Linked DNA regions of Homo sapiens: regions 1, 2, 3, 4, 6 and 7 are each linked to region 5. Evidence: promoter capture Hi-C in 16 types of primary human blood cells and fetal thymus (Javierre and others, 2016). All regions are on one chromosome and are shown on one strand. The core of a region is centred on a gene start or on the middle of the fragment in contact, and the rest is flanking DNA. Distances in the headings are between cores, read along the strand shown.

What was found. Contacts are between HindIII fragments. The CHiCAGO score rates a contact against its expected background, and 5 or more counts as called.
Region 1: a fragment that was not itself captured here is called in contact with the fragment with the promoter of PSMD7 in region 5 in 2 of 17 cell types (naive CD8 T cells and total CD4 T cells); the score reaches 5.5 in naive CD8 T cells.
Region 2: a fragment that was not itself captured here is called in contact with the fragment with the promoter of PSMD7 in region 5 in 1 of 17 cell types (monocytes); the score reaches 5.4 in monocytes.
Region 3: a contact is called between a fragment that was not itself captured here and the fragment with the promoter of PSMD7 in region 5, in 1 of 17 cell types (M2 macrophages). The highest score is 7.1, in M2 macrophages.
Region 4: a contact is called between a fragment that was not itself captured here and the fragment with the promoter of PSMD7 in region 5, in 1 of 17 cell types (neutrophils). The highest score is 6.1, in neutrophils.
Region 6: a contact is called between a fragment that was not itself captured here and the fragment with the promoter of PSMD7 in region 5, in 9 of 17 cell types (non-activated CD4 T cells, total CD4 T cells, total B cells and 6 more). The highest score is 9.4, in non-activated CD4 T cells.
Region 7: the fragment with the promoter of AP1G1 here is called in contact with the fragment with the promoter of PSMD7 in region 5 in 11 of 17 cell types (fetal thymus, naive CD8 T cells, total CD8 T cells and 8 more); the score reaches 12.7 in fetal thymus.

What each region holds. Positions count from the first base shown.
Region 1 is chr16:72,002,709-72,005,555 of GRCh38, reverse strand. It overlaps the pseudogene ATP5F1AP3. Among named protein-coding and RNA genes, the nearest start is that of PKD1L3, 3.7 kb to the right of the region's middle. The HindIII fragment of the contact is 2,136 bases long and covers 517-2,652 here.
Region 2 is chr16:71,732,175-71,735,186 of GRCh38, reverse strand. AP1G1 (adaptor related protein complex 1 subunit gamma 1) reads left to right here. Exons shown (of 23, transcript NM_001128.6): 22 at 480-578; 23 at 2,028-3,012. The coding sequence ends at 2,129. Among named protein-coding and RNA genes, the nearest start is that of PHLPP2, 9.0 kb to the right of the region's middle. The HindIII fragment of the contact is 1,215 bases long and covers 839-2,053 here.
Region 3 is chr16:72,044,056-72,046,922 of GRCh38, reverse strand. No RefSeq gene overlaps it. Among named protein-coding and RNA genes, the nearest start is that of HP, 9.0 kb to the left of the region's middle. The HindIII fragment of the contact is 1,087 bases long and covers 958-2,044 here.
Region 4 is chr16:71,877,851-71,880,666 of GRCh38, reverse strand. ZNF821 (zinc finger protein 821) reads left to right here. Exons shown (of 8, transcript NM_001201552.2): 3 at 644-760. The coding sequence starts at 721. Among named protein-coding and RNA genes, the nearest start is that of ZNF821, 4.9 kb to the left of the region's middle. The HindIII fragment of the contact is 8,509 bases long and covers 1-2,816 here.
Region 5 is chr16:74,295,001-74,298,063 of GRCh38, reverse strand. PSMD7 (proteasome 26S subunit, non-ATPase 7) reads right to left here and starts at 1,250. Exons shown (of 7, transcript NM_002811.5): 1 at 1,076-1,250. The coding sequence starts at 1,149. RefSeq lists enhancers at 236-1,125, 1,026-1,335, 1,126-2,017. The HindIII fragment of the contact is 3,645 bases long and covers 1-1,917 here.
Region 6 is chr16:72,080,931-72,083,722 of GRCh38, reverse strand. No RefSeq gene overlaps it. Among named protein-coding and RNA genes, the nearest start is that of TXNL4B, 11 kb to the left of the region's middle. The HindIII fragment of the contact is 8,593 bases long and covers 1-2,792 here.
Region 7 is chr16:71,807,338-71,810,371 of GRCh38, reverse strand. It overlaps AP1G1 (adaptor related protein complex 1 subunit gamma 1), which reads left to right and starts at 1,538. Exons shown (of 23, transcript NM_001128.6): 1 at 1,538-1,609. It overlaps LOC124903714 (a long non-coding RNA gene), which reads right to left and starts at 1,414. Exons shown (of 2, transcript XR_007065110.1): 1 at 1,170-1,414. RefSeq lists enhancers at 487-566, 1,127-1,816, 1,760-2,407. The HindIII fragment of the contact is 17,673 bases long and covers 1-1,685 here.

The DNA of each region.
Region 1 (2,847 bases), core at 335-2,834, 2.3 Mb after region 5:
ATTCCAACAAATGTCATTTCCATCACTGACAGACAGATCTTGGAAACAGAATTGTTCTACAAAGATATCCGCTCTGCCATTAACATTGGGTCTGTCTGTGTCTTGTGTTGGATCTGCTGCCCAAACCAGGACTATGAAGCAGGCGGCAGGTACCATGAAGCTGGAATTGGCTCAGGATCGTGAGGTTGCTGCTTTTGCCCAGTTTGGTTCTGACCTCAATGCTCCCACTCAACAACTATTGAGTCGCGGTGTGCGTCTAACTGAGTTGCTGAAGCAAGGACAGTATCCTCCCATGGTTACTGAACAACAAGTGGCTGTTATCTGTGCGGGTGTAAGGGGGTATCTTGATAAACTGGAGCCCAGCAAGATTACAAAGTTTGAGAATGCTTTCTTGTCTCATGTTGTCAGCCAGCGCTAAGCCCTGTTGGGCACTATCAGGGCTGATGGAAAGATCTCAGAAGACTCAGATGCAAAGCTGATGGAGTTGTAACAAATTTCTTGGCTGGATTTGAAGCTTAAACTCCTATGGATTCACATCAAATATCAGTTCAGTTTTGTCACTGTTTGTTCTAGTAAATTAGTTTCATTTGTAAAAGAGTTACTCTCATATTCCTTATGTACAAAAATCACATAAAAAAGTTTCCATAATGCATTAAAAAAAAAAAAAAGAGGAGAGTTCCGGGGACCAGGCAACCGCCACAGTTGAACGCTGCTGCTCCACGGTGGAGTCACCGCACCCCCGCCAGCATCATGGTGTTCTACTTCACCAGCAGCAGCGTTAATTCATCTGCCTGCGCTATTTACATGGGAAAGGATAAATATGAAATAGAGACAGGGTTTCACCATTTTGGCCAGAATGGTCTCAATCTCCTGACCTCGTGATCCGCCCACCTCAGCCTCCCAAAGTGCTGGGATTACAGGCATGAGCCACCGCGCCCGGCCCTTGAGTTTTATATCTCTCCTACTAACCCATAAATCATCATGAAGATCTGATGAAGCATGGCTGGCCTGAATATATCTGGTTTCGTGCGGACAGACTCTCTTTGGCTCATGTATACCTTCAATTGCATAAGGGAGAGAATATAGAGGACATTCCAAAGGAAGTGCTGACAGACTGCGCCCACCTTGTGAAGGCCAATAGCACTCAAGGCTGCAAGAACAACGTTAATGTGGTAAATACTCCACGGTCTAACCTGAAGAAAACAGCTGACGTGGATGTGAGGCAGATAGGCTTTCACAGGCAGAAGGATGTAAAAATTGTGACAATGGAGAAGAAAGTAAATGAGATCCTGAACCGATTAGAAAAAACCAAAGTGGAGCCGGGCACGATGGCTCATGTCTGTAATCCCAGCACTTTGGGAGGCTGAGGAGGGCGGATCACGAGGTCAGGAGATCGAGACCATCCTGGCTAACACGGTGAAACCCCGTCTCTACTAAAAATACAAAAAATTAGCCGGGCGTGGTGGCAGGCGCCTGTAGTCCCAGCTACTCGGGAGGCTGAGGCAGGAGAATGGCGTGAACCCGGGAGGCGGAGCTTGCAGTGAGCTGAGATTGCGCCACTGAACTCGAGCCTGGGCGACAAAGCAACAGTCTGTCTCAAAAAAAAAATAATAATAATCTTCATTTCTGTTAAGAAGAACATGTTGGTGGGTAATTATGCGAATGTTTCCCTGTCCCTGATTTCCCAATTAGAAAAAACAGCATATGAGTTTTGGAAAAGAGAGTTCCAGAAGATTGTTGGCTTCAGTATTCACGTTCCATCGTGTCGTCTGGGTCTGTTAGTGTAGTGACCCTCAGCGCAGCCTGTCCTGGCTTTTACGTCCTTGCTTCCTCTGAGCAGGGGCCTCCATCTTAGTATCATCATATTTAAAGAAATCAATGGTGTTCATCAAGGTGGGGCCTGTGGCAGTTGTTGCCTGGGCACCAAGTCACCCAAGTCACCTACACAACAACTTCTGGGCTCAGGAGTAATTTCTCAGCACTGAGGGTAAAATAGGAAGGAACGCTCTGTTGATCATTTGGGAGATGTAGGTTACCTGATTGGTGCCTTGGAATGCAGCATGAAGCAGAAGTCCATATTGCAATTATGATTTTAGAAGGAACTAAGCATTTCACCAGCCAGCCAAGTAATTATTTTCTTTACCTTGAAATCATATTTGAGTTGTAACCCCAGAGTTCAATTTCTCATTGTAAATTCAGTAACTTACTATGTAACATTACTTCTCACTTGAACCTCTCACTATCTGTTTTGATTCCGAGCAGAAGATGTCTTTTGATTGCAGTATGTAAGGTAACCCCTGTAGAAGGAGACCAAACAAGGAGAAAGAGAACAAAGCCTGCAGGACCAGAGGCATACAGATAGACATTTTACTCACACCCACAGCAGCAAGAATGACCTCCTGCAGCAGATACTCCACCTGTAATAGCACTTTGGAACTGTGGGCAAAACCAAAAGGCTAGTGTTTCCATTTATGTATGGGGTTGAACTGGAAAATTCCCTGAGGCATAATTCATTGGCCAAATTTTGAGAGGGTATAGAAGATGACTTTAGAGATGAGTGGTTTTGTGTATGTGTCTAATGATATTCAGCCTGACGTTCTGCAATTTTAAAAATTATAATAAAGTATCATTTTTTAATCTGGAAAAAAAGCTTGAAACATATGTGTGGATGTATCATGCATTTATTTATGTATGTATATGAAGATGTTTAGAAGTTGAGGCTCTGTGAACTTTGAAAACAAAAGCATCCCACATCCAGATGATTCCATTGTCACAAACTCTTGAAAGGGTGGACTACTCTGCTCAGAAACCTTCCAAATAAACTGCAAGCCCTTTATTCTGGCATTT
Region 2 (3,012 bases), core at 197-2,696, 2.6 Mb after region 5:
TCTGCATCCCAGTTATCCAATCACACAAAAGCCTAAAAGCTTATAGTTGGTGACCAGTATGTTGGTTTGCTATTTTTGGGAAGCTTTTCTTTTCATTTCTTTCTGGCTGTTTTTTAAGCCAAAAGCACCGATATTTTACTTGCATAGTTGATCAGTTACCATTAAGTGAAGTTGCCAGAAGAAGAATTGGTCAGCTTTTGAAAAGAGGTAGGCTAGAATTCCTTCTGCCAGAAAGGAGAATGTGGTTTATTACTAGTTGTCATGATCAAAGAACCGAACAGTGGATTTTTACAAATACCACAGGGAGTCAACTCACGTGCTGTGAATTCCTGATATCTAGAAAACAAGTAGTAGGCAAAACTTAGTAGTAGTGAAATCTGTTGCTTGACCCATCATCTGGGTGTCTAAATGGTTTTTGGTATCTCTGACCTAGCGTTGTGTAATTCTTTTTCTGAAGAGTGCCCTTTGTTCCCCCCTAGACATTCCAGCTGCAGCTCTTGTCTCCTAGCAGCAGCATTGTCCCAGCATTTAACACGGGGACCATCACACAAGTCATTAAAGTTCTGAACCCTCAGAAGGTGAGTAGCACATTTGTAGCCAATATCTGAGCCGAAGTGTAAGCATATTTCCCGAAATAAAATTCTGCTTTGTTTCTTTAGGTTTTTCTGACTCATAGTTAGAGAAGAGATCAATGAAAATGCCTGGTCTAACTTCCTTGCTCTTTTGTAAATAACAAATGGAACCCAGAGACATCAGGTGGCTTAGTGGCATCTTATTAAAATGCAACTTCAAAAAAAGCTAGATTAAAGGTCTGGTTTTTGGGGGTAGGGGAGAAGCTTAGACATTTTAATTTATACACAAGTTGAAATCTGAGGTAAGAGCATTTGTTGAAACCAAATACCTACATTTACTGCTACAGTTATTAAGTATGAATAGAAAAATAGAGGCATTTTAAATGAAGCAGCCAAATGAAAAATAGCTTTAGAAACTGAAATTAAGCAATATTTTTATTATCTCTTCTCAAAGAAATAAGCTCACCTTAATAGTAATCAGTTGGTTTTCAGTTTTTGAAAATGGTTCAGAGAATTTCTTTAATAGAGCTCTACTAGTTGCTCATAAGTAACAGTATACTTTCTTTCTCTTGTAACACTTGCCTTTCCTCTGCTATTCACTATATTTTGAGCATCGGCCTCTATAGTACAAGCACAAACTCCTTTGACCATCTGATACAGAGAGTAAAAAATGTCTTAGTGCATTTGTATTTGAAATCTGCCATACAAAAAGTGTCTAATTGAGTTCTCTTAAAACTACTGCTGTTACCTGTGAGTTAAGTCATTTTTTAAAATTTTATGCTTTAGGAACAAAAGGTCATGTTCACATTTACTGTAGGTTTTTCAGATAAAGCAACAGTGTATCTGAATGGAGAGCGTACGATGAGTATATGTTCACCTCATTTTTTAAGAGACTTGGATACAAGGTTTGAATCTTTTTGAAAAGGACTCAGCAAAATGTTACTAGGAGAATGCTCCATGGTGGCTCACGCCTGTAATGCCAGCATTTTAGGAGGCTGAGGTGGGTGTATTATCTGAGGTCAGGAGTTGAAGACCAGCCTGGCCAACATGGTGAAACCCCGTCTCTACTAAAAATAAAAATATTAGTCTGGTGTGGCGGTGAGCCAAGATTGTGCCACTGCACTCCAGCCTGGGCAATAAGAACAAAACCCTGTTTCAAAAGAAAAGAAAAGAAAAAATGCTCCCAAGGAGTTCTGTCCTTTTAATGCAGTTCAAGGATTAAAGCTAACCGTGTATTCTGCAGATGCGCTTTCTCAACTTGGTGGCATGACATTGTTAGCTTCTTGGCTCAAGCCTAGAGTACTGGGTGTTTTTTGTTGTTGTTTACCTGTCATTCTTAACAGACAGCTTTGCTTTAAGTTTTGACCTCTAAGATTAAAAGTCTATTTGTGGACCGGACAGATTCTGGAGATTTCATTTCAGTATATAATTTGCACTTCTCTTTTCCTCTTATAGCAACAGCTGCGAATGCGGATCAAGCTTACATATAATCACAAGGGCTCAGCAATGCAAGATCTAGCAGAGGTGAACAACTTTCCCCCTCAGTCCTGGCAATGAGGGTTTGGCACCATTCTCATTCTTTATCCCACTCAATCAAAGGAACTCTGGGAAGGAGGTTGTGATTGCTGGCAAGTCCCCCCCAACTGTACCACGGGCATGAGGAGCTGAAGAGAACTGCTGAGGAGGATTTTCCTAAAGTTACTGCTGACCTTGAAGCATTGTTAAAGACTAATGTCCTCTCCTCCACTGTTGAGGCTGGCTGCTTCTGGAGGCTACTTTGCACTCTTCCTCTTCTCCTTTTTCCGCACTTCTCCACCCCTCCCACATTTACAGCCAGAATCAACATTCCCTGGGCCCCTGAGGAAATAAGCAGCTGGTCTGGAGGAGAGGACTGCAATCCATGGCGAAAAAACACTCACTTTGTCTCTGCAGCAAAGAGTTGCCCCTTCTTTCTACTGTTGTTTCTCTGTGGACTGGGCAAGGTGGGGTATTTATTCCTCACTAGCTGGGTTACCATCTTCAGGCACTTTTAACATCTGGCATTCGGAATGGAAATGTAATAATGGACATTAGGGAGCCCTGCCTTTTTCTACTGGTTCCCCCAATGTTTGAAAGAGGCATTAGGCTCCTGGTAGCCTTTTCTGTGCATTGCTGTATACACACAGACACACACATGTATGTTTGTTACCAAGAACTGGTCAGACCTTGCGAGTTTATTTGTAAACACTGGACAGATGGAGTTAAAAAGAGCTTTTGTTGAGATTTGGCATGAAGGATATGGTGCTCTATTTGTAATAGAAACTTCCAAGGCTCTTCCAGCTCCCCTTTCTCGCCATTCTTTAGCTGTAGTCATGAATAGTCTCCATGATTTTCAAAATTGATTCCCTTTAAAGTGCAAAATGGTCACCTTCTAAAAGATATATTCATAGTTATTAATGAC
Region 3 (2,867 bases), core at 252-2,751, 2.3 Mb after region 5:
GGATGTGAGAGAAAAGTTCATTTTTTCCATATAGGCATGCAATCGATCCAGTATTATTTGCTAAAATGACCATCCTTTGTCCCTGAATTCCAGTGGTATCTTTATTATACATCAGGTGATTATATATGTGTTGGCCTCCTCCTGAATCCTCTATTCTTTTCCATTAGTCTATTTGTCTAATCTGGAGCCATTGTCATACTGTCTTAATAATGTGTGAAAGGAGGTTGGGTGCGGTGGCTCACGCCTGTAATCCCAGCATTTTGGGAGGCCGAGGCGGGTGGATCACGAGGTCAGGAGATCGAGATCATTCTGGCCAACATGGTGAAACCCCATCCCTACTAAAGTACAAAAAATTAGCTGGGCATGGTGGCGGGCGCCTGTAGTCCCAGCTACTCGGAGGCTGAGGCAGGGGAATCGCTTGAACCCGGAAGGCGGAAGTTGCAGTGAGCTGAGATCGCGCCACTGCACTCCAGCCTGGGCGACAGAACGAGATTCTGTCTCAAAAAATAAAAATAAAAAAATAAATAATAATAATAATAATAATAATAATAATGTGTGAAAGGAAACTATCTTAAACCCCCAGAATCACTAAGCTAAAGGGAAAAGTGAAGCAGAGAACTGCTTAGGGCAAACCTGCCTCCCATTCTATTCAATGCCACCCCTCTGCTCACTGAGATAAATGCATATCCTTTTGCCTCTTTTGGAGAGGCTCATCAGAACCTCAAAAGAATGTAACCATTTGTCTCTTATCTACCTATGACCTGGAAGCCCCCTCCTGGCTTTGAGACTTGTCCCGCCTCTGCGGACGGAACCAGTGTTCATCTTACGTATGTTGATTGATGTCTCAGGTCTCCCTAAAATGTATAAAACCAAACTGTGCTCTGACCGCCTTGGACATATATCAGGACCTCCTGAGGTTGTGTTGGGTGTGCGTCCTCAACCTTGGCAAAATAAGCTTTCTAAATTAACCGAAACCTGTCTCAAATTTTGGGGGTTCACAAATGGGAACTTTTTTTGAGACAGGGTCTCACTGTCCCCCAGGCAGGAGTGCAGGGACACAATCTGCAGCCTCAACAATGATCTCCAACAATCCTCCCACCTCAGCCTCACAGGTAACTGAGACTACAGGTATGCGCAACCACACACAGCCAACTTGTTGTTGTTGTAGTTGTAGAGATGTGGTTTTGCCATGTTGACCAGGCTGGACTTGAACTCTTGGGCTCAAGTGATCCACCCACCTCAGCTTCCTAAAGTGCTGGCATTACAGGCATGAGCCTCCACACCTGGCCAATAATGGGAACTTTATACTAAATCTTGCTATCTGGTATTATAAGTGTTCCAACTTTATTTTCTTTCAGAGTTTGTCTTGACTATTCTAGGTCTTTTCCATTTTATGTAAATTTTAAAATCAACTTTCCAATTCTCACAAAATGTCCTGATGGGATTTTTATTGGGATTACATTGAATCTCCAGATCACTTTGGGGAGAGTTGACATCTTGACTCTGTTGAGTCTTTCGAGTAATGCACGTAGCATCTCTCTTCATTTATTTAGGCTGTCTTTAATTTTAATGCCTTGTTCATATTGATACAGACCTCTGGCACCTCTTTCATTAGATTTATTCTTAAGCATTTGATGTTTATGTTATTGTAAATGATATTTTTTAATTGATTTAAATAGTATAGGAATAAATACCTCAGTAGCCATGAAATGAGAACCCTGGATTTTCACAAGAGTATACATGACCTTCAAACAGAATGGAGAGTGGACTGTTGAATTCAGAACAGCACATGTTGTTCAGAATTGCAGTTTATCTTGATAAGAAAATTAAACAAAGACATTCACATGATTACACCTATTTCTAGAATTTCTCCTTTTTTTCACAGTCACCAGGACCAGGGGCTACAGGGTCCCACGGTGCCTGGAACATAGGCATTGCTTCCCAGTTGCACTGCCTTACGGTCAGCAATTCTCTTCTCCAAAACTGAGCCACTGGCAGACACACATATTGATATTTTGTACCATACACATTGATATTTTAAGCTTTTTAAGAGCTTCTTAAAAGTAGGATCATCCCTGACAGTTTGTAAATGAGGAACTTCCAAGATCCAGGCTGCTAAATCAAATATTATCCTCAGACCAGCTTCCTGTCAGCAAAGACAGCCAACCAAGGTGGGAAACCCACACAGCCTGTCAAAACTTACAAAGAAATGCTGCCTTTCCCAGCATGAAACTGGTCAGATGTCAAAGGCATGAGGATATTAGTACGAGTGTAAAAACTGACTCTATATTCAAAAGAATTCATATCAACCTTCCTTAATTTCTTCAACCTACCACGTTTGTGGGATGGGTCCCAGGAAACAAGGTAGGACCAAGTCGGTGTTTTTTCATTCACCCTTATCTCCATGGCCCAGCAATGCCTGGCATACAACAGAGGCTCAGTCCGGTTGGTTGAATTGAATGGGGGATAAACATAGCCTCTGCCTTCAAAGAGTTCAGAATAGGGGCAGAAATAAAAACTGTAACACGAGTAAGTAATGCCTGTATTGTCATCTTCTGTCTGCAGTGGAGAAGATCCAGCCCTCAGAAGCATAAAAGCTGTCCGCAGAACCAGCCCTGCAGGTACTTTAGGAGAAAAGCCAGTCAACTCCTAGTAATAACAGGTAACATTGGGAGGGTTCTGTGTGCCAGGCACTGTGCTATGTGCTTTCTGTGTATTTACTCATTTAATTCTTCAACAGCCCATAAGCATTGGGTCTTTTTATTATCTAATAATCCCGTTTTTTATAAATGGGGCACAGAGAGGATAAGGAACTTGTTCAAGGTAACACAGCTAGCAAAGAGAGGAGCCAGGATTCAAACCCAGGC
Region 4 (2,816 bases), core at 162-2,661, 2.4 Mb after region 5:
CCCATCTTCAACATTAGAAGTTTGATTTGCTTAGTGCCATGTCATTCACAGTGCAGCATAGCATTGCGCCTGTATCACCAGATAGAGGCTTTATTTCCCATGCTGTTCTCATTTACAGATGCCTATTTGAGACATTTTCTGTCTCGCAGGGATGTGATGCCTTTGCTACCTCTAGGCAAGATAACATCATGAAAAATCCGCTGGTGTAGACTGCAGGGCTTGACTTCCAGTGGGCATGTGACATGTGAGCTGCCACCCTCTTTGGCTTCCTTTTGCTTCCTTTTGCAATTCATCGGAGTTATCCCCTTGAGCCCACAGTACTTCTAACCCTGGATGCCTGAGTTTTACTTCCTCTTTTATCCTGTGACCTTGATCATGATCACTTAACAGTATTCTGGATTCCAAAGATGGATTTAGAGTATAATTCTCTAAGTCCTCTGAGGGAGTCCCCTCTTAAACTTTCTGGGACCTTGACGTTAGGCTAGAGATTTATTCATTTCTTTCTTTCTTTCATTAGTTCAATTATTTATAACTGGTGAGTTTTATATGCTCAGGAGCTGTTTTTTAAGGACATTTTATCTTTAAATTTTGTGTAACTGCTGGGGAAAATGACATGTGCTAACAATAACCTTTTTTATTGCAGGTTAGCATCTTGCAAGGAGGTAGTAACATATCCAGTCGTGAAACTGGGAAAGACCAGAGCTCTTGCATCAGGGAAACATGTCCCGTCGGAAACAGACAAATCCAAATAAAGTTCACTGTGAGTATCGGGCTTTGTCTTCTGGAACCTGGGAATGCTAAGGGGTGGAATGGAAGAGTAACCTGAATTTAGGGGAGAAGCTCACGCTAATTTGTGAAGAAGAAAAGTTTAAATGTAAAACACAGTTTGCTGAGCAGAAGAGAAAAAAAGAAAGAAAGAAAAAGGGTTAAAAATGTTGGAAATGGTGGATTTAAAGTGTGTCTGGTTGCTGGGGGAGGTGTTGGAAACCTATCTTAGGGGTATGTACACTTGATATATCTTTAATATCACATTAACAAACAGTTATAGGATACCTACTCTCTGCAGATCCTTGTGCTAGATGTCAGGGCTCTAAACCAATATAAGATCTATAAGACCGTATTGTAACCTCAGATATATAAATATGAATGATAGTATATGCTAATTGCCAAACAGATGCTGCAGACTGTATGTACTAGAGAAGTTCGGAGGAAGGAAGTTAAAAGAGCTCAGTGGACTGAAGTAGCAAGGGGAATGCTTAATGGAAAAGCCTCTAGACCATGCGCCTGAACTGGGCCTTAGAGGGTAGAAAATGGATTTGAAAAAAAAAATTAAAAAACAAGAGGCAGGGAGAGGGAACATCAGGTAGGGAAAGTGAAGTGAGCAAAGACAGAAGCGGGAATCCACATGTTCAGAGGACAAGGAGACTTTATATGAAGCAGAGGTCTCATTTGTTCAAAAGTCAGAAGATGTGAGGTTAGAGATGCTTAACTCTACACGTGGAAGGCTGAATGCCAGGCCAAGTTCAAAGTTCATTCTATAGTCCGTAGGGAACTACTGAAGGTTTTTAAGCAGGGAGAGGGGAGTGACATTTAGAATACAGCGTTTTGGTACTATGAAGCAATTTGTGGGATGGATCACAAGAGGGAGAGGCTAGAAACCAGAAGGCCAAGTATACACTATTACCTTGTGTTGTTTTCAACAGTGTCACATGCATGTTTTTCTTTGCTTTTTTTTTTTTTTTTGAGACAGAGTCTCGCTCTGTCACCCAGGCTGGAGTGTAGCAGTGTGATCTCTGCAACATCGGCCTCCTGGCTTCAAGCAATTCTCCTGCTGCAACCTGCCGAGTAGCTGGGATTAAGGTGCTCGCCACCATGCCCAGCTAATTTTTTTGTATTTTTAGTAGAGACAGGGTTTCACCATGTTGGCGAGGCTGGCCTTGAACTCCTGACCTCAGGTGATCTGGCCACCTCGGGCTCCCAAAGTGCTGGGATTACAGGCATGAGCCACCGCACCTGTTGCATATTTTATTTCAGTAATTGCATAGTAAACTTCTAGAAGGCAGAGACTATGTGCCATATGTATTTCCTTATGTATCCTCTTTACTTCTAGCACTACTCATAGAAGGTGTTCAAAAAGTGCCTTCTTAAATTGACATTAATATCTACACAGATTTGAGATAATTAGCCATTTTCCTATTATCTGGGAAGATAATCGTTCCCACCCAAATGTTCGTTAAAAAGACAAATAGTGGCCGGGCGCGGTGGCTTGCACCTGTAATCCCAGCACTTTGGGAGGCCGAGGTGGGCCATATCACCTGGGGTAAGGAGTTGGAGACCAGTCTGGCCAACGTGGCAAAAAACTCATCTCCACTAAAAATACAAAAAAAATTAACCAGGCATGGTGGCAGGCACCTATAATCCCAGCTACTCTACTTGGGAGGCTGAGGCAGGAGAATCACTTGAACCTGGGAGGTGGAGGTTGCAGTGAGCCAAGATCGTGTCACTGACTCCAGCCTGGGCAAACATAGACTCCATCAAAAAAAAAAAAAAAAAGACAAATAGTTCCCTATTATTATGAACTGTTTGAGTAAAGTGCAGCAACATTTGAAGAGAATTCAGAGGTATAACAGATGAAAAGTTTGTAAAAAACAAAAAACCTATATATGTGTGTATATATATATAAAATATATATACATATATATTTATATATATTTTATTTTTTTATATAATATATATAATTTTTTTTTGAGATGAGGTGTTGCTCTGTTGCCCAGGCTGGAGTGCAGTGGCGTGATCTCAGCTCACTGCAACCTCGA
Region 5 (3,063 bases), core at 1-2,500:
GTCTCAGCCTCCCAAAATGCTGGGATTACAGGCGTGAGCCACCATGCTCGGCCTCGTGTTTTAAATAAAAACTGAAACCTCATCTATATATACATTTTTTTTTTTGAGACGGAGTCTAATCAGATTCCCATTTAAAAATGTTAATGGGTTAAAACCACAGCTGATCCAGGAAGCCCTTCGGGGTGCTGAGCATCATCCAGATTTCGATAACAGGAACTCGGTCAAATGAAGACAAACATAGATACGACCCTGGGGGCGGGGGTCAGGGCCAAATTGAAGCTAGCCCCCTTAGCCCCACTCCGGCATCATCCAGGCATCATTCACTTTGCATCATTCACATTTCGGTGAAATCAACTTGGTTAAACGAGGATAAACATAAATACGACCCTGGGGCCGGGGTCAGGGCCAAATGAAGGTAGCCACCCTGCACCCCACTCCAGCATCATCCATATTTCGGTGAAACCAATTCGGTCAAACGAAGATAAACATAGCCTTGGGGCGGGGCTAAATGGAGCTAGCCCACTCCGCCCCACCCAAGCATCATCCAGACATCAGTCACTTTGCATTATTCACATTTCAGTGAAATCAACTGAGTCAAATGAAGATACGACCCTGGGGTCGGGGGTCAGAGCCAAATGAAGCTAGCCCGCCTCCGCCCCACCCTGGCTTTATCCAGATTTCGGCAAAACGAACTTCAAAACGAAGTGACAGACACGAGCTTGGGGGCGGGGGTCAGGGCCAACTAAAGCTAGCCGCATCTCCCGACCCCCAGCATCATCCAGATTTCGGTAAAACGAACTTCGGCAAAACGAACTCGGAAAGGGAACTCTGTAAAACAAACAGGCTAAACGGAACAGGCAGCCAAGGCCCCGAAGTGGCGGCGGCTGGGGCAGGGGCGGGAGGCTGGATGACTCCGGCATCGTGAGCCGACGCTGGTCTGGACTCGTGAACAAGTAAGGGTCACCAGCCGCCCTATCTGCGTCCCCAGCTCGTCCGCGGCCGCCGCGCCATCTCCAGCGTGCCCGTGACTCAGCAGCGGCTGCGCCGCCGGCCCAGCTATAGGGCGCTCGCTCACCGGTTGAAATGATCCACCACACTGAGCAGCACCAGGGGGTGGACCACCACCTTCTGCACTGCCAGCTCCGGCATCGCGACACACCCCGCTCGCCAGGCCTGGCTCCCTGCCACACGCAAACACCGGCAGCAGTAGCGGTCACCGGTACCCTTTCAGGCCCAGTTCCTCTTCTTCCGGTTCGTCAGCCCTCGCGCGGCCTCCTTCTTCCGCTCCCAGAGTGCCTCGCGCGGCGGGCCCGGATCTTCGCCACCGCCGTCATTTGTGGGCGGAGAAAGGGCTGGAGAAAGGCGGGAATCGCCCCTCGTCCCTCGCCGTGCGTTTCCCTGGACTTAAGGGCCGAAGGGACACCGGCGACTTGACCTCCTGGTATTGGCCTGTACCGTCACCTGCAGAGGCTTTTCGCCTCAATTCCTTCCCAGCACCCTCCCCCCGCCACCCCCCCAAAGTAAATAGTTGACAGTTTACTTTTCTACCACCCGGAAGAAGTTCACTTTTGCTTCAGGTCAAAATCCTCCGCGATTTCTGAGAGGAACTTTAAATCTCTAACATAAGAGCACGCTTTTAATGTAATTTGGTAATTTATCTCATTCTCGTTTTCATTGCCGGGGGAATTTCTCCTTTATCTTTACTGTGGACACTTTGCAATGAACGTGGCAACCTGCAGGTTTCCACCTGTCGTTATATTACTGCGTAACTAGGGCTAGAAGAACGCAATTGTGCCGTTGCTTTTGAAATCAAAATTTACAGAAGCGTTGAAGAAAAGACGGAAGGAAGGCAGTAAGGAAGTATGTTGTGATATGTAGCTAGGAAAGAGAAGACTAAGGTAGACAAAGACTTAAGCTTATTTGCAGGAGGCAAATTATAAGAAAAATCATACAGGTTTATATCGTCTCATTTGAAGTTGCTGTTTCTGTAAACGAAAACAGTACTTAAGCAACCTGAATTATTTACTTATATTTTGTTCTGTTTTTAAACAATTTTTGCTTTCCCTTTATCACCAGAGGATTTTCCCAACATTTTGGCCTCTTGTCTTTTTAAGGTGGACTTCCTGATCTCCAAATGTCAAGGGACACACTCAGTCTCTCTTATTTGTGGGTGGTGAAAAACATTAGCAAAGATTAGACTGAAATTTGGCCACCAATGAGAGACATTAATGTAGTCAGGAGTTTGAATTTGTCTGCATGTGAATTTATCTTTGTCTTCTGTCTGCAACTTGGCTTTATTTTCAGATTTTCTGCTAGATCTGCAAGGAAGTAAATGGCAGGATATGCTTAATATTCATAATTAATTGAAGAGACTCAATGCTATCTTTATTTTTTCATTTTTTTTTTTGGTACAGTTGGTGTCTCACTATGTTGTCCAAGCTGGTCTTAAACCCCCAGCCTCAAGCAATCCTCCCACCTCAGCCTCCCAAACTGCTGGGATTACAGGTGTGAGCTACTGTGCCTGGCCATTCATTCTTAATTATAACTAGAAAGATATAAGGGTTATGTTAATGGGGAAAGAAAACTAAGAATTATTGAATCTATTGAGTGCCTATAATATGCCAGCCCTGGTTCAGACGCAAATATTTAATCCTTTTAATTAATGCTTCTCAAACTTTGATATGCTTACAAATCACCAGGGGACCTTGTTAAAATTCAGATTCTGATTCTGTAGGTCTGAGATGGGACCTGAAATTCTGAGCTTCTAACAAGCTTTCAGGTGAGGCCCATGCTGTGTTAACAAGGCTTGTAACAACCTTACGAAGTCGGTATTTTCTCATTACAAATGAAAATTGTTGCTCAAATGTTGCTCTCGAGGTGGGCTTTTTCTCACGCTTTGAAAAAATTTTGTCTTTCTCCCCCTAATGTGTTTCTGCTTTAGTTTTCTCCATAGTTTTTACCACTTGTGAATAGTTTGTAGAATTTACTTATTCTGTTCATTCTTTGTCTCTCATTAGAATGTAAGCTCTTGTTTAGTTTGTAAACTCCTGTTTACTTTTTTTT
Region 6 (2,792 bases), core at 67-2,566, 2.2 Mb after region 5:
TTTGATTTCGAGCTTTAAATTCATTGGCGGCTACTCGTGGTACTCCAATTGCCTCTATATAGACATGGGGGTCAAAAGACCCTTGAGGAGCTTCTCTTTCTTCCCAAGAGGGTGACTTTTTGTCGGACTGATGAAATGCCAGGGTGAAAGAGATGGCCAGTTGGATTAGAGTGCAAGTGCTGCTCCAATTATTTGGCAGCATACCCAGTAGAGGTCCTCCACAATACCACCAAACATCTGCTTGTGGATAGACAAGGGCAGTCTGATTGGTGAGCTCTCGAAAAGGCTCGGATTCACTGCATCCCGTTAGATTCCTGAAAGATGTAAGTTTTCCCCGTCATGAGAGACAAGAGGTAAAATTGGCATCAGAGGCCAGGAGCCAGATGGCCCTTGGGGGCTGACCCACAGGGAAGTCTTTGACTTTTGGGAAAAGCAGTGAGAGACTGGTGCATGACTTATTACCCCAGGCTGTGGGGTGCTGGAAGAGAGCTACTGTACAGTCCATGCCCGGTTGGTTAGACCATCCAAGCAGGAAGGGAACTATTTGGATTTCTGGCCTGCCCATTGCACAGGCATAACAGTCGCTTTTATTTAAAGTGCAAACTGAATATTTGATCCATTTCAGCCAGGCATTCATTTCTTGGTGTCCGGTCTCGATGGCCAGGGTTTGTTTTAGGTCTTTGACTTCCACTATGTGCACTTTAGTTTTGTCATTAGGTAGTGGCAAGATAGTTGTTTCATTTGGAGGAGATCTTCGGGAAGGAAGGGGTGCTGGAGGGGCGACAAAACGAATCTCAAAGGACCCTATGGGGTCTTTCCCGCTAACATCTGCCCCATACCATAAAAGCGACTTAGGGTGGGAATATGGTTAGTGGAGGTTGAAGTAGTAATAGAAATATGCACCAGGTTACATCGGAGGTGTTGGCAGTTAGAGGAGTTATTTTGTTTAGTAAAATGGATATAAGGTTTTAGGGAGGTGCAGCCTGCTGAAGAAGTCCAGCCTTGGGACTGAGTGGTCCAGAGAATATCGTACCAGGAATGGCAAGGTAGCCAATTATAGGGAATCTTGCAAGGATCAGATTGAGGGTGGGGTGAGTACCAAGGGCAAAGATACTTTTCTGAAGAGGCTAGTTGCCTTTGACTTTGTAGGTCTCTGCAAGGTATGACTAGGCAAGCATCAAACACAACAGCTTGAGGGGAGGCTGACCTGGTTACATTAACAATGAAATGCGGGCTGGGCACGGTGACTCATGCCTGTAATCCCAGGACTTTGGGAGGCCGAGGCGGGCAGTTCACAAGGTCAGGAGATCAACCATCCTGGCTAACACTGTGAAACCCCGTCTCTACTAAAAATACAAAAAATTAGCCGGGCATGGTGGCAGGCACCTGTAGTCCCAGCTACTCGGGAGGCTGAGGCAGGAGAATGGTGTGAACCCAGGAGGCAGAGCTTGCAGTGAGTGGAGATCTTGCCACTGCACTCCAGCCTGGGCAACAGAGCGAGACTCCATCTCAAAAAAAAAAAAAAATGAAATGCCCCTGGGCAATTAGGGGGAAGAAGAGACAAATTAGACCTTTTTGAATGTTAATTTTGAGGGAGTTGGTCCTGGAGTGATGGTCCATGATTCCATAAGGGGTGGGGTCCTTTTTACCCAAGTGTGATGAGTCCACCCCTGTTCAGCCGTTCGGGCTGCTGTTTCAGTTGTTAGGAGTATTAGATAGGGTCCTTCCCACGATGGTTCGAGTTTTCCTCCCTCCAGCTTTTGATGAGCACATAATCCCCAGGCTGATGTGGGTGTACTGGAAACTCTAGAGGCGGCATTTGTGCTAAGAGGCCTTGGGTCCTGAGGGAAAAAAGGGTGGAAGATAGACCACGTATATAGTTTTTAAGAAATTGATGTTTTGTTTCAAATGTAGGGATGTCAGTGGTGGAATTTAAGCATGGCAATCTGTAGAGCGTTTCATAAGGGGACAGGCCGATATCTTTTCAAGGGGCGATACGAATTCTTAGTAAGGCGACAGGGAGGTACTTAGTTCATGGCAGTCGGGTTTCCAAGATTAGTTTAGTTAGGTGATTTATTTATTTTGATTCATTCTTTCTGCTTTTCCTGATGAGGGTGGGTGCCAGGGAGTATGATATTCCCATTTTATCTCTAGTGTCTGGGTTAATCCTTTAATGACCTGTGCAGTAAAATGGGTTCCATTGTCTGAGTCAATGTTCTCTATTAATCTGAATCTGGGTATGGTATCTTCTATTAGTACTTTAACTACATTATTGGCAGTTGCACTTGGCAGGTGAATGGCTTCCACCCAGTGAGTGAGATGGTCCACTATAACTGACAAACATTTGAGGCAGCCTATTTGGGGCATTTCGGTATAAGTCAATTTGGACACTTTGGAATGGCCTTAGCCCAGGATTTCTTCCGCCGAAGGGCAGTTTTCTTAAAGTTTGTTTATTGGTTTTTCTGCATACCATACAACTGTCTGTGACTTGCCTGGTGAGGGTATAAATCCCTGTACACCCATAGGTTCTAAGGACTGCATCACACATGGCTTGGGGACCCCAATGGGTCCCTTGGTGAAGTTGTGTTAAGATTTCTGTCATTAGGGGTTTGGACAACATTTCTTTGTTATCTGGCAGTATCCGTTTCTCTTCTGAGTTTTTGTTAGCCCCTATTTTCTTTAATTTTTCTTTGTCTGCTTGGGAGAAGATGGGGGTTGCAGATGGGGAAGGGAGACAAGGGGTTCAGTGGAAAATGGGTGCTTCTTGGGAAGTAACTCTTGAAAGAGAGACC
Region 7 (3,034 bases), core at 289-2,788, 2.5 Mb after region 5:
TCCTAAAGTACTGGGATTACATGCGTCAGCCACTGTGCCCGGCCTACTTAGAGCAATTTTTGTTAAGTGTTTTGAAATCCCTGCATGAAAATGACTAAGGAAAAAAGTGCAACCTTCTCTCTATGACACCCAAATCCTAAACTCAAGATTTGTGGTTAGTTCTGGCCAGGCCGGTGGCTCACACCTGTCATCTCCACACTTTGGGAGGCCGACGCAGGCAGATCACCTGAGGTCAGGAGTTCAAGACCAGCCTGGCCAACATGGCGAAACCCTCTCTCTACTAAAAATGCAAATATTAGACGGCCGTGGTGGCGGGAGCCTGTAATCCCAGCTACTTGCGAGGCTGAAGCACGAGAAATTGCTTGACCCCGGGAGGCAAGGTTGTAGTGAGCCGGGATCCCGCCACTGCACTCCAGCCTGGGCAACAGAGCGAGACTTTGTCTCAAAAAAAAAAAAAAAATTTTTTTTGTGTGGTTGGTTCTGTTCTCTTTGGCACCCAGCCTGCTGCTGTGTTGTATTGTACTTTGTTGCCAATCTAGCAGAAGGATTTTAGTCTAGGTAGGTCACCTTTCCTTTAAACAGGCCAAGATATCAGGCCCTCTTTACATTCACATGGAAAAGACTCACGTCATATGTTAGTAATTATTTATCAGGTTAGGAACTGTCTGGTTAGACTTTCTTTGGCCCTGGTTATTAATTCATGGAGTCATAGACCGAAAGCCCATTCTGTAAGGGTTTCAGCTAACATGAGTCCAAGTCTTCTTTCTACATATGAGGAAATTGAATCCCTGGAGAGTTTAAGTGACTTGAGCAGTGCAAGCACCGCGGTACCGGGCGTGGAATCCATTCTTTTCAGTCATCCTCTTAACTCTTCATAAAATATGTTGCAAAGACACCATAAAACCATAGAATACCACCTGGAGCATGCTCCTTAAGTTATAAAGAAAGCAAAAATCTTAAAGGAGACAGCAAAGAGTTCGGGATTCCCGTGGACGAAGACCTTTTCAGCCCTGCTGTCTTCTCCGCCCCCACCTGTCTCGCTTGCTCTCACTTCCTGGGCTACCTGACTTAGCTCCGCCCCCTCCAGGTGGCTCCACCGCTTCCTGGTAGCCCAGCTCCACCCCCCCTACCCCCCCACCCCCCTACCCCCCACCCCCCTACCCCCTCACCAAGCGGAACCAATGTCCGTCCGCTACGGGGTAGGCCGGATCTTTCTCGCTCAGACTCATCGCAGCGGTGACTCGGCAGCAGCGTCTCGCGTCATCAGTGACAGCCCCGATCCTTGCTACGTTTGCGTCGCTCTGCCAGGAGCAGTCGCCTCCTCCTTGGCAAATAGTCCTCGGCAGGGTCCGAGTTCTTGGATAATTCGAGAGAAAAGGCACGATAAGTTGCAGTACGAGGACACGGAAACGACCAGGAGAGGAGGACAGGGAGCGAAGTTTCCTCAATAGTGTGTGAAGTTAGTTAAAAACTCCCTCCTTCCTCAGGATCCCTCCGCCTGCGGTAGCGGTGGTGAGGCCGAGGGAGCCGCCATTTTGGATGTTCGGTTCCTGCTGCCACTGCTGCCGCCGCCCCCGGAGCTGCTGGTTTCATTCGAGGTTTCGGGCCGGTGAGTGTCACTCCCGGCGCTGAGAGCATATTGCTGCTTTTGCCCCGCCGCTGCCGCGGGCGCTCGACCGGAAGCTTCCTTTCAGTTTCAGGGGTCCAGTCCCAGGCTGTGGGTGTTGAGAAGAGAAGACAGAGAAGCTGGGCCAGGAGAGGCCGGGAGCCCCAGGGGCTGCTCCGACTTCTGGAGGGCCGACCCCGAGGCCTCGGACCGGGAGGTTCCGCGCGCCGCGGCGTTCCGTGTTGTGGCGTTGCCCCGCCGGTACGGGCCTCCTTGAACCCTTGACTTTCTCAGGCTGCGATCTTTGAGGGCTCATTCAGGGAGCCTGGGGTTTAGCGGGGCGGGCCCCACCCCCGCGTGTCTTCTCTGAGCCACGTATCAGCGTTCTTGTGTCTTGTACCCGTGTCAGGTCTGTCAGATAACTCCCAGCATATCCAAATGCCCAGTTAATCGCTGCCTGCCCCTGCAGTGCCGTCCTCTCGGAACCGGACATCGGCCTCGCCTCTCTCTAACCTTCCGACCAACTTCTTTCCCAATTTTTCGTGTGTGTGTGTATATGTTGTTGTTTTGTTTTTTTCAACCTACCTGCGAGTATACTGTTTACCCTTTTCTCAGCTCCTGGCCCTGCGGACGTCAGCGTCTAATAATTCTCCCGGTCTTCCTGATTGCCTGAAAGAGTCGGGACGGTTCGGTTGATTGTGTTTCCCGGTTAGGACTCGGTGTAGGAGATCCATCGAACCACTCGCTCAGGGTAATGTTTATGAAGCAGATTATGTTTATGAAGCAGATTAAATGGCTTTTGGGAGGCAAGAGCTGTCAAATGTTTTCTCATATGTGGATTCCCTCCCTGTGCTGAATACTTAGCTTTTTGGTGCTTACTGACACTTGTGTGGTATTTTTTTTTCTCCCCTATTATATATCCCTGAGCACGGAAATCTGTCCATGGAGAAAAATATTAATCTGAGGTAGGTAGAAAGGAGAGTTGGGCTGCTTTACAGTGATTAGTTAACAGAAGGGAGGAGTTAGTGCTTTCTTAGTGACCTTAACTTTGAAGTGTTTGTACAGTAATGATCTTTGCTGACTGATTCTAAAAAATACTTGTAATGATTTCATGTATTGGGTTTTTCTGGGGATAGCTGAATTTTAAATATTCACTTCCACCGTTCCCTAGAATACTTGTCAAATACCTAACTTGTCACACACCCTAACTTTCACGTTTGAAAAATATGAACCCTCTAAGTACTCGTAATCTCGTCACTTTTATTCTAAAGGCATGTTTGCAGTCTAGCATGCTTGAATAAAAAGTATGTCTTTATTTTTATTTATTTATTTTTTGAGACGAAGTCTCCCTCTGTCTCCAGGCTGGAGTGCAGTGGCACGGTCTCGGCTCACTGCAACCTACGCCTCCCGGGTTCAAGCAGTTCTCCT